2 separate regions of the Homo sapiens genome follow, and region 2 is linked to region 1. Evidence: promoter capture Hi-C in human tissues and cell types (Jung and others, 2019). All regions are on one chromosome and are shown on one strand. The core of a region is centred on a gene start or on the middle of the fragment in contact, and the rest is flanking DNA. Distances in the headings are between cores, read along the strand shown. Region 1 holds the start of BCL6B (BCL6B transcription repressor). Region 2 overlaps NLRP1 (NLR family pyrin domain containing 1).

Region 1 (7,305 bases), core at 3,259-5,758:
GCAGATGCAGCCGCAGTTGACTCTTGTGCCGGAAATGCAGGCCACAGGGGTCGCACTGTGGGAGGACAGCCAAGTCAGGCCCTGCCCCATCCACAATCACCTTTTAGGTGTTGAGCCGGGCGGCCGTCCAGCTCTCCCAGGTGGGAACTATCCAGCGGAAGATCAGCTCTTTGACTCTCACATCCTCCCAAATCCTCAGGGGTGGCTGAGGGGATAGGCCCCGCCTTATTTAGCAAAGGTTTTCCCACTTCTCAGCTCCTCTCTGAGAAAACAGTGCTCAGCCCAGGAGCATCACTTCTATACCTGCCCATCCTGACTCCCAGCCTCCACCCCTTATTTGCTTGGACTCTTCCGGCCACCGCTCATTTCTAAGAGATCTAGGGACAGCCAGGCCCGCACCTCTCAGAGCCCACCCCTAGGCAAAGGAGAGGTAATTCTAAGGCAGTGGGCAGGCCAGGTTGGGTACCCACGTGGTAAGGCTTCTCTCCGGTGTGGATGCGAACGTGGCTCTTGAGGGTCTGCAGGTGGCGGAAGCGGGTTCCGCAGGTAGGGCAAGGGTAGGGCTTCTCCCCGGTGTGGATCAGCACGTGCGCCCGCAGATGTGCCACCTGGGAGGGAGGAGACTTCAAGTCCTGCCTCTGGGAGGAACAGAACCCTCCCTATTGGCCCACCCCACCTCTTGCAGGTTTGCCTTGGAAGCCACTTGGAGGCTGGCTCCGTACCTGTACAAAGCGCGAGCCGCACGTCTCACACTTATACGGCTTCTCTCCCGAATGGATGCGGCTGTGCGTTTTCAGGTTTGCTGGCCGGTTAAAACGGGCTCCGCAGATTGAGCAGTGGTAAGGCTTTTCCCCTGGAGGCAGAGAACATGGGAGATCAGGGACTTTGCCCTAGGACAGCTGTGGGCTTGAAGGCCAGGGCCCTCTCTTCCCCTACCTGTGTGCACTGTACGATGACTGGCAAGGTTGCCCTTGTAGCGGAACGAAGACCGGCACAGCTGACACTTATAGGGTTTGTCTTCGTCCCCAGGAACCAAGGAGTCCAGCCCCGATGAGCACCCTGCCACAGCCTCACAGTTCTGGCAGCTGAAAAATTCACTTCCTGGGAAGGGGAATGGGTGACGGCAACCATAGTTATTAATGAGGGCTATCTAGGTACTACTGAATCCTCAAACCACACAGTAGCAGGCTTTCTGTTTCCCAATTTATTGTTAAGACTTCTGGGGCTGGTTTGACTTGCTCAAGGCCAAGTAAGAAGATAGTAAGATGAGCCAGATCTGACTGCACATCTGTCTGACTCGAGTACTCAGCTAATCTCCTCTTCAATAGCAGTGGTGGGGGCCAGGTACGGTGGCTCACGACTGTAATCCCAGCACTTTGGGAGGCCGAGGCGGTCGGATCACAAGGTCAAGAGATGGAGACCATCCTGGCCAACATGGTGAAACCTCGTCTCTACTAAAAATACAAAAAGTAGCTGGGTGTGGTGGCACGTGCCTGTAGTCCCAGCTACTCGGGAAGCTGAGGCAGGAGAATCGCTTGAACCTGGGATGTGGAGGTTGTAGTGAACCGAGATTGCGGCACTGCACTTCAGCCTGGCCACAGAGTGAGACTCCGTCTCAAAAAAATAAATAAATAAAATAAAAGCAGTGGTGGTAGGTGGAGGCCCCTGCTAGTGGGAGGAGTTTTGTTTCTCCTCCTGTTTTTTTTTTTTTTTTTTTTTTTGAGACAGAGTCTTGCTGTGTTGCCTATGCTGGAGTGCAGTGGTGTGATCTCGGCTCACTGCAATCTCCACCTCCCGGGTTCAGACGATCCTTCCACTTTAGCTTCCTGAGTAGCTGGGACTACAGGTGTGCACCACCGTGCCCGGCTAATTTTCATTTTTATTTTTTGTAGAGACCACATCTGACTATGTTGCCCAGGCTGGCCTTGAGCTCTTGGATTCAAGTGATCCTCCTGCACTGGCCTCCCAAAGTGCTGGCATTACAGGCATGAGCCACCATGCTTGGCTAAAATCTCCTCCTCACTTGCACCACTCTGAATGACAGCCTGCCAGAGAGGCCCTGACAAGCTTTGGGCTGACCATTCAGCTCTGAAAGGGGATAGGCCAGAAATTCTCAAACTTTGCTGCTCATTGGAAGCACTGGGAGAGCTTTAGAAAAATACTGATGACTCGTCCCATGTCCAGATATTTTAATCTATGGAGTGTGACCTGGGCAGTGGGAGTTTAAAAGCTTCCTAGGTGATTCTAATTTGTAATAAAGTTTAGGAACCATTGGAATAGGCCTTTCTGGGAGAGTTTTTGGCACAAACTTGCCTGGAGCAGTCACGGGAGAAAAGCCAAGAAAGAGGGGCTCTTACCCGGTAGTGGACGAGCCCGTTCAGAGGGTGATCCAGAGGTGTCTTGAGCCTGGGATGTGAGGAGGTAGGGGGTACTGGCTGGAGCCCCACATTTGAACTGCACAGTGGCAGCAGTTGGAGAGAGCCTAGGCAGATGGCAAGGAAAGGGTTAAAAGAGATTGTACGGTTGAGGGGTGGGGGTTCTCTCCTGGGAAATTTGGAGCCAAAGGCCTGCCCTCTCAGGGTGAGCCAATATTGTTGACCAATGAGCCACATCCATTGTACTGCCCAAGTGCCACCCTGCTGAATAAACCTGGTCTCTGGCCAGCTCCTTAAGGTGAGCTAGTGTCTCTGAAACCCACCACCTATCTCCCTTCCTCCTGACCATCAAGGCCCAATGACTCTGTCTTCTAGCTGAGGCCAGCTCTGACAAATTCTTGAGGTTCTAGACTCTGTACCTGCTCTGGGGACCAGGAATGGGTCCTTCTTCACTGCTGCTGCTGCTGCTGCTGCTGCTGCTGGAGGCCTCGTCTCCACTGGGGAGCCTGGCTTGGGGGCAAGGTTGACCAGAACTTCTCTCCCCGACCAGGCTCCCTGCTTGGGAGGCCTGAGAGTTTAGCACGATGTACTTGTACTTTTTCCAGTTGCAGGCCTTGGGGTCAGGGCTGGCTGGACTGGGGGGGCCTTGACTGCAGCTTCGAGATTCAGTAGGTGGGTCTGGGTGTCCTTCGGAGCGCCTGGGACTACCTGGTGGAGGGGCCGTTGGGGGTGTTGGGGGTTCTGCTTCCAGGGGGCGCAGGGAGATGCCCAGAGGTTCATAGCTGGGGAAAGTGTGATGAACGTTAGTGCCATTTCCTAAACTCTGCCTTTGCCCTTAACACCTCACCCACAGAGAACGCCGAGCCAGGGTCCCTCACCTGGCCTGGATGAAGCGGTGGCATGCCTGGACCACGTGCTCCATCTGCAAATAGGTGGCGGCCGCTAGGACTGCTGGTGCAGTGGCTGGAGAGAGGCGCAGGCGCGAAGTGTACATGAAGTCCAATAGAGGGGCGAAGCCTCTCGCTTCGGGACCCCCGGGCAGAGAGAGCACGTCCACCCCGACTCCCGCACGGCCCCGGAAAATTGAATAGAAGAAGCCACTAGAGAGAGAGCAGATAAGTCCTTTGGGGGCTGGGGAACCAAGGGAGACATGCGCAGCTTCAGGAAGCCCCGCCCCCTGAAAAAGTCCCGCCTCCTCACTATCACCCCGCCCCCAATTCTGGGACGCTCCGCCTCCTGCTTCTGAAAGACTTGGCTTCGGATTCCCTCTCAACGGCCCTGTGGTCCCACCCCTTTCCCATTTGGCCCCGCCCCAGGCCCCACCCCTCGAACCTGCAGGCGATGAGAACTGCCTTGTGTGCTCTGAGGGGTTGCCCGCCAACCAGCAGCGTGACGTCAGTGAGGATCCCGCGCAGGCGCAGCTCGTTGAGGTTGCCCAGCACGTCGGAGGAGTGGCGAGTGAACTCGCGGACGTAGCCCAGCGCTCCCTCCGGGGCGGCGGGGGAACCCATAGCGACACAGGCCTGTAGAGGCCGTGGAAAGTGCTCTGGATCCAGGCAGTCCTAAGACGCCTTCCCTCCTCTGTTTGCCTTTTCCTTCCGAGGTGCAACTAGAGCCAGGACTTCCAGCCCCTAGCCCCGGCACACGCAGCCTCCCTCCTAATTCTTCTTGTTCATTCTGCCCTCTACGACACCCTCGCTCCCTTGCCTCTTCCAGATCCCACAGCGCTTGGAGCCAGTTGAAGGTTCCACACCGCGGCGTCGTTGGCGAGCGTGGGGAATCCCGCGCCCATCGCCCTGGGTTCGACCCCCAGTGCCCCTCCAGCACCGCCACTCCCCTCTGCGCGCCTGTGTCTCAGGTGTCCAACCCTGCCTCGAGATCTCACGGCCTGCCGTCCACACACCTCCAAATCCCAGCCGAGGCTCCCTTCCCCGAACTACGGAATTCTGCGACTCCTATCTAGTCCCCAATCCCTAGTTTAGCCCAATTTCTGGGACTCAGGCTCGCTGATGGCAAGCTCCACACAAGCTCCTACCCTCTTGGGGGACCCAGGAGTCTGGCTCCCTCAGTCTCTTGTTCTTACCCCCGTCCTGCAGGGGCCGCGGCTTCTCTTCTTAAGGGGGGCGGGGTCTCTCTCCCCTCTTGGCCTCGGCTCCTTTATCTGGCCGGGATGTCGGGGGCGGGGGTGGAGGTGGGGTGAACGCCTGGGTCTGTATCCTTCCTTCCTCCCTCGCTCTCCAGATGGCGAGTCCAGGGCGGGGTCTCCGTCTCGAGGGCGGGACCTCAGAAACAAGGGGTGGTCGTAACGTAGGGGGTCTTGGGTCACTGCAAGTGGACACGAGGACGGGGATATTGGAATTGGGGAGGAGGTTAGGGATATCGAGGTTGGCAATACGGGAGTCTGAGTCGTCGGAAGGCCTGGGCCAGTGAAAATTGGTGTGTTGGCTTTTGGGAGGGTTTGCCAGGAGCCAACCTTTGCTGCAGGACAAAGTGCATACGGCAACCCCCTCTCCCTCTCTTGTACTGTGTTAAGGGAGAAAAGGGGGAGCCCAACGAGACAGCAGGTTTGGGCAGACGACAGTGGGCTCCCGTAGGGTCTCAGACGGGGAGGGTGTGGTGTGAATGACAGGCTACTCTACCCGGGCCTACAAAAAGGGGGGCTCTGGCCGGGCGGGGTACGGAGAGGGCGGATATGATTTCTAGTTGGTTTCCTTCCATTGTCCTGCGACCGGACGGCTCCGCCAGCTGCTTCCCCTCGAGGAGGTGGGGAAAGCCCCGAGGTGGGGGTGGAGGGGCGAGAGACGCTCGGGAGACCTAGGCGTCCGGCCTCTCTCGCTCCCGACTCTCTTCTGGGTCCTTGTAGGGATCCAGAGAGATGGACTCCCGCCCAAAGCCCGCTTGCTTTCCCCCAATCCCAGCTCACGAGGGCCTCGGGCACCCGCCCGTCGGCTACGCTTGGAGGCTGGCGGGACGCCGGGGTCCAGCGCGGCAAGTAGGCAAGGCTCGGCAATGTGCGGCTCCTTCCACGAGGGGGCGGCCGAGCACTGGCCTCGCCTCGCCCCTCGTCTCCACCCGGCCTGGGGTGCGCTCAGACCCGGGCGCAGGATCCATTTGGTCTGGGCGGCTGAAACCTTTAGCCTCCTCCCCTTTGCGCGGGTTTATTTTGCACCTCTGTCTCCTAGGAGGGGACTAGGGCTGGGCGGAGGGAGCTAGAGTTAGGAGACCGAGGGGACTTTCCCCTCAGGCTGGGGTTCCTACCCGAGGTGAGAAATCGCGGGCTTTAGGAGCCAGGGGAATGGGTGGGACAAGAAGCGGGACCTGAGCCTGGGAACTCCGGGTTTTCTTTTCGAATTAAGCTAGACACTGCTACCCAGATGTCTTTGGAGGTGACTTTTAATTGAACATTAAAATTGGGTGGGGTAAACGAGAAGGGAAAACAAGGAGGAGGGAGAGAGGGCAGGAGGGGGCTTAACCACCCTAATTTGAAGTCCCTGATCTGAGAGATGGGCATGGATCACACCCTCATATTTTGTTTCGGGAGACATTGCGGGCAGGCAAGGCAAAGCTCATTTGGAGAAGGGGTGCTAGAGCTGAATCCAGCTGCAAGGCAGAAGCTCCCCGGATTTGGGCTGGGGAGAGTGTACAGTTGGCCAGGAATGGCCGACCATGGTCCACGGGGCTGGATATCAGGCCCGGGGCCCTCCCCTTCAGACCGGAGTGTGTCTTTATTTGAATGCATGAAAGAACAGCTGAGAAACCGGGAACTGGGAAATTCAGGACGATGAGGTGGCTTTGACATGTGAGGGTTATTTAGGTCTCTGCCCAGCTTGGAGATGAGAATTAGACTAGGGGCTCTCCCTTTGGCATCAGGATGGAGTATTATTTGATCAGTTGTGGGGTGTCTGTTTATTATGGGGTGTTGATTTGATTGTGAGCACCGGTGGCTGCATTCAGCCTTTGAGGCCTATATGGTAAGTTTCAGGTATGGGGCTGACTTGGAAGTTACATTAGTTCTGGGGGTTCTGACACCCACAATTTGGAGATTGTGCTCACCTGTGTCATCTTGGACTATCAGCAGAACCAAAGTACTCATGCTGATTTGGGGGTGCAGTCTATTTTGGGGTGCCATCTAAGTTTCAAGGCTCAGATTAGATTTGGGGAATAAGTTCAATTTGGAGTTTTAAAAATTAGTTTGAGGTGGAACATTATAGGAAGCTGGGAGCAAGTTCGAAGCTTTCTGTGATTGGGGGTCCTGGGAGGGGGGAGCAAACTTTTATATTTGAGTCTTGTGGACACTCACGTTCCACAAAGTGGAAAGACGTGGGGTATTCCTGTGTATCCATGGATACCCAAGAAGCTTTTTCCCCAGGGGAGAAACAAGGTGAGGGCCGCGAGGACAGGAGACTAAAGTTCTGGGGTGTTCTTATTTTGGGGGTGTTTTGTCACTCTGGCTGCTTTTGGTGAAGCTAAGGGATAATCATAAGGTGAGACTGATTTGGGAGTTCACTTAATTTGGACCCTGGTTTGGGATGTCTTTTGCTTATAGTGCCCTCTCACCCCAGATTCTAGAAGTTTCTTTAGTGAACCCCCAAATAAGCCCAGGATTTGAAGGGAGAAACTTGGAAAGGGTGTGGTATCTCCTTTTATTATTATGTGGCTTGAGGGAGAAGAGAGGGAGAAAAGGCGGTTTCAGACTCTGAATCCCAATTTCTTAAGGGAGCACCCCTTAGTTTGGGGGAAGTTGGAGAAAAATGGGGTGTCCCTTGGCCAAGTGGGCACCCCTGACCAGGGCAGTGCTGTTGGAACTGTGGCAAGGAGGGGTGCTGGTGGGGTACAAGGAGGTGATTCTTGCACCCTGATTTTCTAGGATGAGCCCCAAACAGAAAGCAGACAGAGGACTGGGAGTGTGGGTGAGATGGCGGGGAGGGGT
Region 2 (7,380 bases), core at 4,878-7,377, 1.5 Mb after region 1:
ACCCCTGCCACAGAACAAGAGGCAAAATGCACAGAGGCTGCTTTTAGCTAGCTGTGACCAGCCAGGAAACCAATCCCTGGGGCCGGGCAGGGCCCCTTCCAGAAATGCTTGCTGCCTGCTGTCTGGGCTGCAGCTGTTCATTGCCCTGGAAACGATGACCTCACTGCCTGACACAGGGTCTGATTTAGGACTTGGGCACTGGTGCTTCATCACTGTCGTCGCTGAACGGGTGATGAGTCATTAACTTTCCATGGTGAGTTTTCTCCCACTATAGCTAGAGCTTGAGGCTTTCAGCCTCTCAGCTTCATCACCGTGGCAATGGGCATTCTCACCCTCCTGCAGGACCAGCTCCAGCAGTCATAGGGCCCAGCACAAAATGAAAGCGCGGAGCTCTTCATTCAAAAATGATTAAGAATGTCAAGACCACCAAACATGAAACCAAGCACCAAGCCCTGCTGAGCTCAGGACCCTGTGTGACTGCACAGGCCACACATCCATGAAGCTGGCCTTGTCCTTCGGGTCCTTCGTTCCCCCACCCACCCATCTCCTTCAGCACACACAGACCTCTGCTCTCCACACAACCCTCCCTCCAAGAGGAAGTGAGTTCCCTCATTTTTGTCACACTTGCTCCTCTCTGTGCTGCCTGTGGGAACAAGAACACTTCACACAGACACCTGAGTGGGGTCTCGCCCCATTCCCACTCCCTCCCCCTGCCCACCTACTCAGGAGTTCAACCAGATGAGATGGCTGGAAACCACAGTGGTATCCCTCAGGCCTCAAAACTGTTGTCTTCCTGGAACCAACACTTACTGAATCGTATAACAATATAGAGTCCCAAAACTCAGATTAAGCAAAATGGATATTCAAAATACCTTAGTGGCTGGGTGCAGTGGCTCACACCTGTAATTCCAACACTTTGGGAGGCAGAAACGGGAGGATGACTTGAGCCCAGGAGTCTGAGACAAGCCTGGGCAACATAGTGAGACCCCATCTCCACAAAAAAATATTGAAGAATTAGCCAGGCATGGTGGTGCGCACCTGTAGTTCCAACTACTCAGGAGGCTGAGGTGAGAGGAGCACTTGAGCCTGGAAGGTCAAGGCTACAGTGAGTCATGATCGTGCACTGCACTCCAGCCTGGGTGACAGAGCAAGACTCTGTCTCAAAAAAAAAAAAAATTTAGTAGCTTTTTCTTCCCAGACCCCAAGAGTTACCAAGAGGACTGGGCCGAGTTGTTTGAGGAAGAAACAGAAGGAACCACCACAGCCAGGTGGATAGATTGGTCAAGCTGCATTTTATCTGTAATACGAGCAAGTGGTCCTTATTATCCCCAGGGCTTTATAGACACAAACCCAGTCAATCTGCACAGTGACACCGGGAGGGGGATGCTGTTATCAGCCCCACTTTACAGATGATGCACAGAGAGGGCAAGTAATCTGCTCAGAGTCCCACAGTTGGTAAGAACCCTTGCTGGGAGTCAAAGCCAGGCAGTCCCTATCATTTAGCTGCTCTGCTAGACAACCCTCTAGTGCCCTACCTTCATGTGATGTGGGTCCCACTGTCCCTGCTTGAGTAGGAGAGCCACTGTGCCCCTCAACAGCTCACCTGAGCCTGGAAGGTGCTGACCACACACACTCAGCAGGAAGGGCACGGCCAGGCATCAGGCCACAGGCCCAAGGGCAGCATCTAAAGGAGGGAGAGTCCCCAGGCTCCTGGACAGCAGGAGCAGCAATGTCCCAAGGCAAACACCGGGCATGCGGCTGGGAAAGGAGGAAGGAGCTGACAGGCTTCCATTGGCGGAGCACTTGTCATGCTTTGAGCCATTGTTCTATTTGCTGTCTGTATTCCCCATTGGGCCACAAGCTCTGGAATTGCAGTGCCCATGTCTTTCCTGTTCACAGCTACATCCACAGGGGCTGGCACATTGTCCGTACTCAGTAAGCTTTTGTGTAATAAGCAGATGCAAAGCCCTGGACCCCAGACCCACAGAAACATGCCTACCTCATGATAGCTTTTTCTAAATTTTTCTGGTGCAACCAGCCAAAGGCAGCGTAGGTCTTTCTGCCAGTGAGACTTCCTCCAGTCAACACTCAACCTTCTTCTCCTTCAGACCACAGTCTTCCCCATTGCTTCCCTTCTCTCTCCAATCTATCAGCACAAATATACTGTCAGGTTTGGATGAGGTGACTCTACCACAATCTATGGAAAGGGCAGTATGTGCAAGAAGGGGGGTGACCAGCTCATCTTAACACTGACAGTCCTGCACCCCCAGGAGCCCTCTCGGTCCTGGGCAAGCATGGACAGTTGGTCACCCTAGCAAGAAGGTAAGTTGGAGACACCCAGCACCTTCTGGAATTCAGCAAAAATTCAAGTGGCACCGAGCGTCTGTTAGTGCTCCAGACTGTGGTCAGAATCCTGGGATCTGGTCCTAGGACCATGGCTGGTTGTGTGGCCTTGGAAAAAGCACTTTCCTCCCAGGATTTCAGCTCCCTCAACTGACATGTGAAGACATTCCAGTGCTTTGGAGGTCAGGATGAGACCATCCATTTAGTGCCAGTGATGGCAACGCAAACCAGCATCGCCTCTTGGAGAAGCAACTGGGGAGTGAAGGAGGTCATACCATCTCACACGCTTTCCTCATCCCTTGGTACTGATTGATTTCAAGGCAATAACACAAGGGAAATAGAAGCTTTCTGCAGAATATGTGCATTGCAGGTGCTATTTATCATGGTGAAAAGTTGGAAGCAAACTCAACACTGAAATGAGAAACAGGCTGAATCACAGGGTGGTGCATCCACTAGCAGGGATCATATACTGTGGTAATTAAATGGTCTGACATCCTTGCAGCAAGTTAAACTGTCACAGGAAACAAGAGACAAAGTATCATGGACTACAATAAAAATAGGAAAAGGTGTTGCCGCAGAGAAAGACTGTAATGCAGGCGTCCCATGCTAAGAATAGTTATACTGTGGCCAGGCGCGGTCTGGGAGGCCGAGGCAGGTGGATCACCTAAGGTCAGGAGTTCAAGACCAGCCTGGCCAACATGGTGAAACCCCATCTCTACTAAAAAGCCAGGCGCAGTGGTGCATGCCTGTAGTCCCAGCTACTCGGGAGGCTGAGGCATGAGAATCACTTCAACCCAGGAGGCGGAGGCTGTGGTGAGCCAAGATCACACCACTGTACTCCAGCCTCGGTGACAGAGCTAGACTCCGTGTCAAAAATAAAAAAAGAATAGTTGTATTGTTTGATTGGTAAGATTCATAGGTGAATTCTTCCTCATTTTTTCAGATGATAGATACCACTGTGACTTTATTTTCATCCCAAAAACGCAGTTAAATGACAAAACTTAAGTAATGGTCTTCATGGACCCTTCTGGGATTGACATCTGACTAAGGGCTTTGTCCAGCTTGCTGGATGCCTTGTTGCCCAGAAACCACTTGCATTGCAGCAGTTACCAGGCAATGCAGGGATGGAGCTGGGACCTCTGATCCCTAGGCCAGTGTCTCTCCCATTACCAGTATTCATCCCTCAAGCTCTCTTGTAACTTCAATGTCCTTGCCTGGCGCTGGTCAGAGACTGCAATCAAAGGTACCAATTCTGGCTGATTTAAGCAGAAAAGGGATACATTGAAAGGTTATTGACTAACTCATAGACTTAGCAAAAGGTTATGCAACAAATCTAAGCGGGGGGGAAGATAGTGACCCAATGACTCAGAGAAACCAAGGGCAGAGCCAAGGTCACATCAGGAAAATACGGAGACAGGCGGCAGAAAATACGGAGACAGCTACTGTAGGACCCTCCTGCCCAGGAGCCACTGGGCTCTTTTTCTTTCTTTCTGGTATTTTGTTTTTTGTTTTTTGTTTTTTGTTTTTGAGACAGGGTCTCACTCTGTCACCCAGGCTAGAATGCAGCAGCACACTCATAGCTCATTGCAACCTTGAACTTCTGGGTTCAAGTGATCCGCCCACCTCAGCCTCCTAAGTAGCTGGAATTATGAGTGTGCACCACCACACCTGCCTCTCACTGGACTCTTCACCCAACTGCTACTGCCAGAATTCTCTCTCTCTGCATCTGTTTCACCCCTCTAGACTTGAGGTCCCAGTTAGAGACAACCACTTAGTCAAGTCTTGGTCACACACCTGTGTCCTTGCTGCCAGGGAGTAGTAGCATCCTGAGTGGGGGGCTTGGCTTGCCTCCTGCCAAGACCCACACAGTGCTGGAGGAGGAGGCTCTTCCTAAAAAGAAGAGTTTGAATAGTGAGTGGCCAAACACCTTGGTCACTCTATGTTCCTACTGCCCCTTCCTCCTCCTTGTTCTCTACCTGCCTAGTCAAACCTTCCAGCATCACTCAATGGTCTCTCATAGAGAATCCACACCAGCACAGGCAACTAGAGGTTCTATATCTTTCCCAGCTCCAGGGCCAGGGGCTGGGTTTGCGTATAAGTTTGGCTCAAGGGTGATCCTTGAGCTCCACTTAGGAGTTCAGCACTGCTAAGTGCTCCCACCTGGTGGCACAATTTCCCACAGCCTCCAAAGGCCCCAGGCCTAGAAATGCCCTCTTCCCCATGCTGGGTGTCTTAGCCTGTTCAGGCTGCTATAACAAAATACCATAAACTAGGTAGCTTGTAAATAACAGAAATTTGTTTCTCACAGTTCTGGAGCCTGGTAAGTCCAAGATCAAGGCGCCAGCAGATTTGGTGTGTTGGTGAGGCCCATTCCTCATACATGGAGCCTTCTAGCTGTGTCCTCACAGGGTGGAAGGGACAAGCAAGCTCCCTTGAGTCTCTTTTGTAAGGGCACTAATCCCATTCATGAGAATTCCACCCCCATGACCTAATCACCTCCCATAAAAGCTTCACCTCTTAATACCATCACCTTGGGGGTTAGAATTTCAACATATGAATTGTAGGAGGACACAGACATTCAAGACCATAGCACTGGGCTCCCCCAAGAGGGTACCTGAGCCTAAGCCCTGGGATCCTACAGTGCCAGCAAATCCTGACTCAGTAACAACACTAAATCTAGGCCTCTTGGGCTGGATGCAGCGGCTCACGCCTGTAATCCCAGCACTTTGGGAGGCCGAGGCAGGCGGATCACCTGAGGTCAGGAGTTCAAGACCAACCTGGCCAACATAGTTAAACCCCATCTCTACTAAAAATACAAAAATTAGCTGGGCATGGTGGCAGGCGCCTGTAATCCCAGCTACTCGGGAGGCTGAGGCAGGAGAATCGCTTGAACCCAGGAGGCGGAGGTTGCAGTGAGCCGAGATTGTACCATTGCACTCCAGCCTGGGCGACAAGAGCGAAACTCTGTCTCAACAAAATAAATAAATAAAAATAAACCTGTGCCTCTTCAATCCATTCTTTTACAGGGGGCCATGTGGACACATCCCTGTTCCAAATGGCCCACTTTAAAGAGGAGGGGATGCTCCTGGAGAAGCCAGCCAGGGTGGAGCTGCATCACATAGTTCTGGAAAACCCCAGCTTCTCCCCCTTGGGAGTCCTCCTGAAAATGATCCATAATGCCCTGCGCTTCATTCCCGTCACCTCTGTGGTGTTGCTTTACCACCGCGTCCATCCTGAGGAAGTCACCTTCCACCTCTACCTGATCCCAAGTGACTGCTCCATTCGGAAGGTGACACTAAGAGCCAGAAAGGCTGGGCCACGGTGGGTTGACGGTAAACACAAAATGCAGCCAGAGAGCCCCCTAGAGGGTCTTCAACTGGGACCAAGGATGGGCCTCTTGTACAGGAGAACCTTGAAGTGGGCAAACAATTCGTCCCCTCTCAGTCTTGGACTGGTCTCCTGCCTCTCCAAGGTATCCCCCTGCTAGGTTCATTGATCAATCACTGATCTTTGGACAGTTTCTTACGGCCCCTGTCCAGGAATCAAAGGATTGGAGTCCTCCATGCCTAAAACTGTAGCCTTTCCTCATTCTAACTTCCCTAACAATAACCCTATTCCTATCCTGAAGACATCAAAGACCAAGTGCGGGCTGTCTCTGTAGCAGTGCATGGGGGGAGGGAGGCAGGGGTGATATAGCCCCACTCTGTCCACACAAACACACAGATGCACCATCCCCCCTATTCAAACCACATTCCACGGGGCAGAAGCCTCCCTTAATCATTGTTCCCTATGTTCTGTAGGCCATAGATGATCTAGAAATGAAATTCCAGTTTGTGCGAATCCACAAGCCACCCCCGCTGACCCCACTTTATATGGGCTGTCGTTACACTGTGTCTGGGTCTGGTTCAGGGATGCTGGAAATACTCCCCAAGGTGAGCAGCCCAGTGTCTGCCTCTTCACTGCGAACAGAAGTCCTACCTGGGAATGAATGCCTGTGGGGCAGGTCTCAGGGCTTTCTCAGGGACAGGATAAATCGAGGTTGAACAGAAAGTGAGTGGGATTTAGAGAAAGTGGGAATGCTTCCAAGACTAGGAGAAAGAAAGTTCGGAGGAGGGAGGATCACATGCAGGATGTGAAGGATGATGGGGTTTGACTTGGGGGCACTGGGAAGTGTTTGGGCTATAGGTCATCAATGTCCTTCAGTCCAGACCACCAGGAACAAACCTGTAGTTGAACATACTGGCTTTATTAATCATTGCAGTGGCAGAACACATATTATGGGGAACCATGGGGTGTCTCAGTAAAGGGTGTTTGAAAGAATCTGCTATAGGATTTGGGCCTTGGTTGCATACATTTGAGGAAGATCTAAGGAAACGAAGATTTTCTTTAGATTGGGTGTTGGTTCAGGCCACACGGAGATTTGTGGAAGAACATTTCAGGCAGAAGGAATGTGTGCAGAGGCATAGAGGTGGGAGCAAGCTTGACGCCTCCAGATGACAAAAAAGAGGTCAGTATAGCAAAAGATGAGTCAGATTAGAGGCAGGGTCTTACCAGGCCTCATCTGCCCTGTTGGCCCTGGTATGCACTTTGCACTTTGTTCTAAGTGCAATGGCAAGCTTTTGAGGGTCATAAACAGCTAATACAAGACCTGATTTACAGCCAGGCGCGGTGGCTCACGCCTGTAATCCCAGCATTTTGGGTACCGAGGTGGGCAGATCACTTGAGGTCAGGAGTTCGAGACCAGCCTGGCCAACATGGTGAAACCCTGTCTCTACTAAAAATACAAAAATTAGCTGGGTGTGGTGGTGTATGCCTGTAATGCCAGCTACTCAGGGGGCTGAGGCAGGAGAATCACTTGAACCTGGGAGGCAGAGGTTGCAGTGAGCCGAGAGTGCACCACTGCACTCCAGCCTAGGTGATAGAGCAAGACTCTGTCTCAAAAAAAAAAAAAAAAAAAAAAAAAAGACCTGATTTACTTTCATAAAGATGCCTCTGGCTGCTGGGTGAGAACGAATGATAAGCAGGCAAGAGTGAAAG

What was found. The method cuts DNA at HindIII sites, captures the fragments that hold promoters and counts their contacts. A contact is called where the count stands out against the background at its distance.
Region 2: a fragment that was not itself captured here is called in contact with the fragment with the promoter of BCL6B in region 1 in 1 of the 25 tissues and cell types used here (mesenchymal stem cells).

What each region holds. Positions count from the first base shown.
Region 1 is chr17:7,020,253-7,027,557 of GRCh38, reverse strand. BCL6B (BCL6B transcription repressor) reads right to left here and starts at 4,508. Exons shown (of 9, transcript NM_181844.4): 1 at 4,459-4,508; 2 at 3,708-3,898; 3 at 3,254-3,475; 4 at 2,795-3,157; 5 at 2,358-2,482; 6 at 937-1,101; 7 at 723-853; 8 at 471-608; 9 at 1-55. The coding sequence starts at 3,886. RefSeq lists a silencer at 5,415-5,554. The HindIII fragment of the contact is 11,810 bases long and covers 1-7,305 here.
Region 2 is chr17:5,519,776-5,527,155 of GRCh38, reverse strand. NLRP1 (NLR family pyrin domain containing 1) reads left to right here. Exons shown (of 17, transcript NM_033004.4): 13 at 5,370-5,632; 14 at 6,144-6,275. The region is part of intron 1 of LOC124903902 (a long non-coding RNA gene); the gene reads right to left. Among named protein-coding and RNA genes, the nearest start is that of MIS12, 37 kb to the right of the region's middle. The HindIII fragment of the contact is 4,716 bases long and covers 3,770-7,380 here.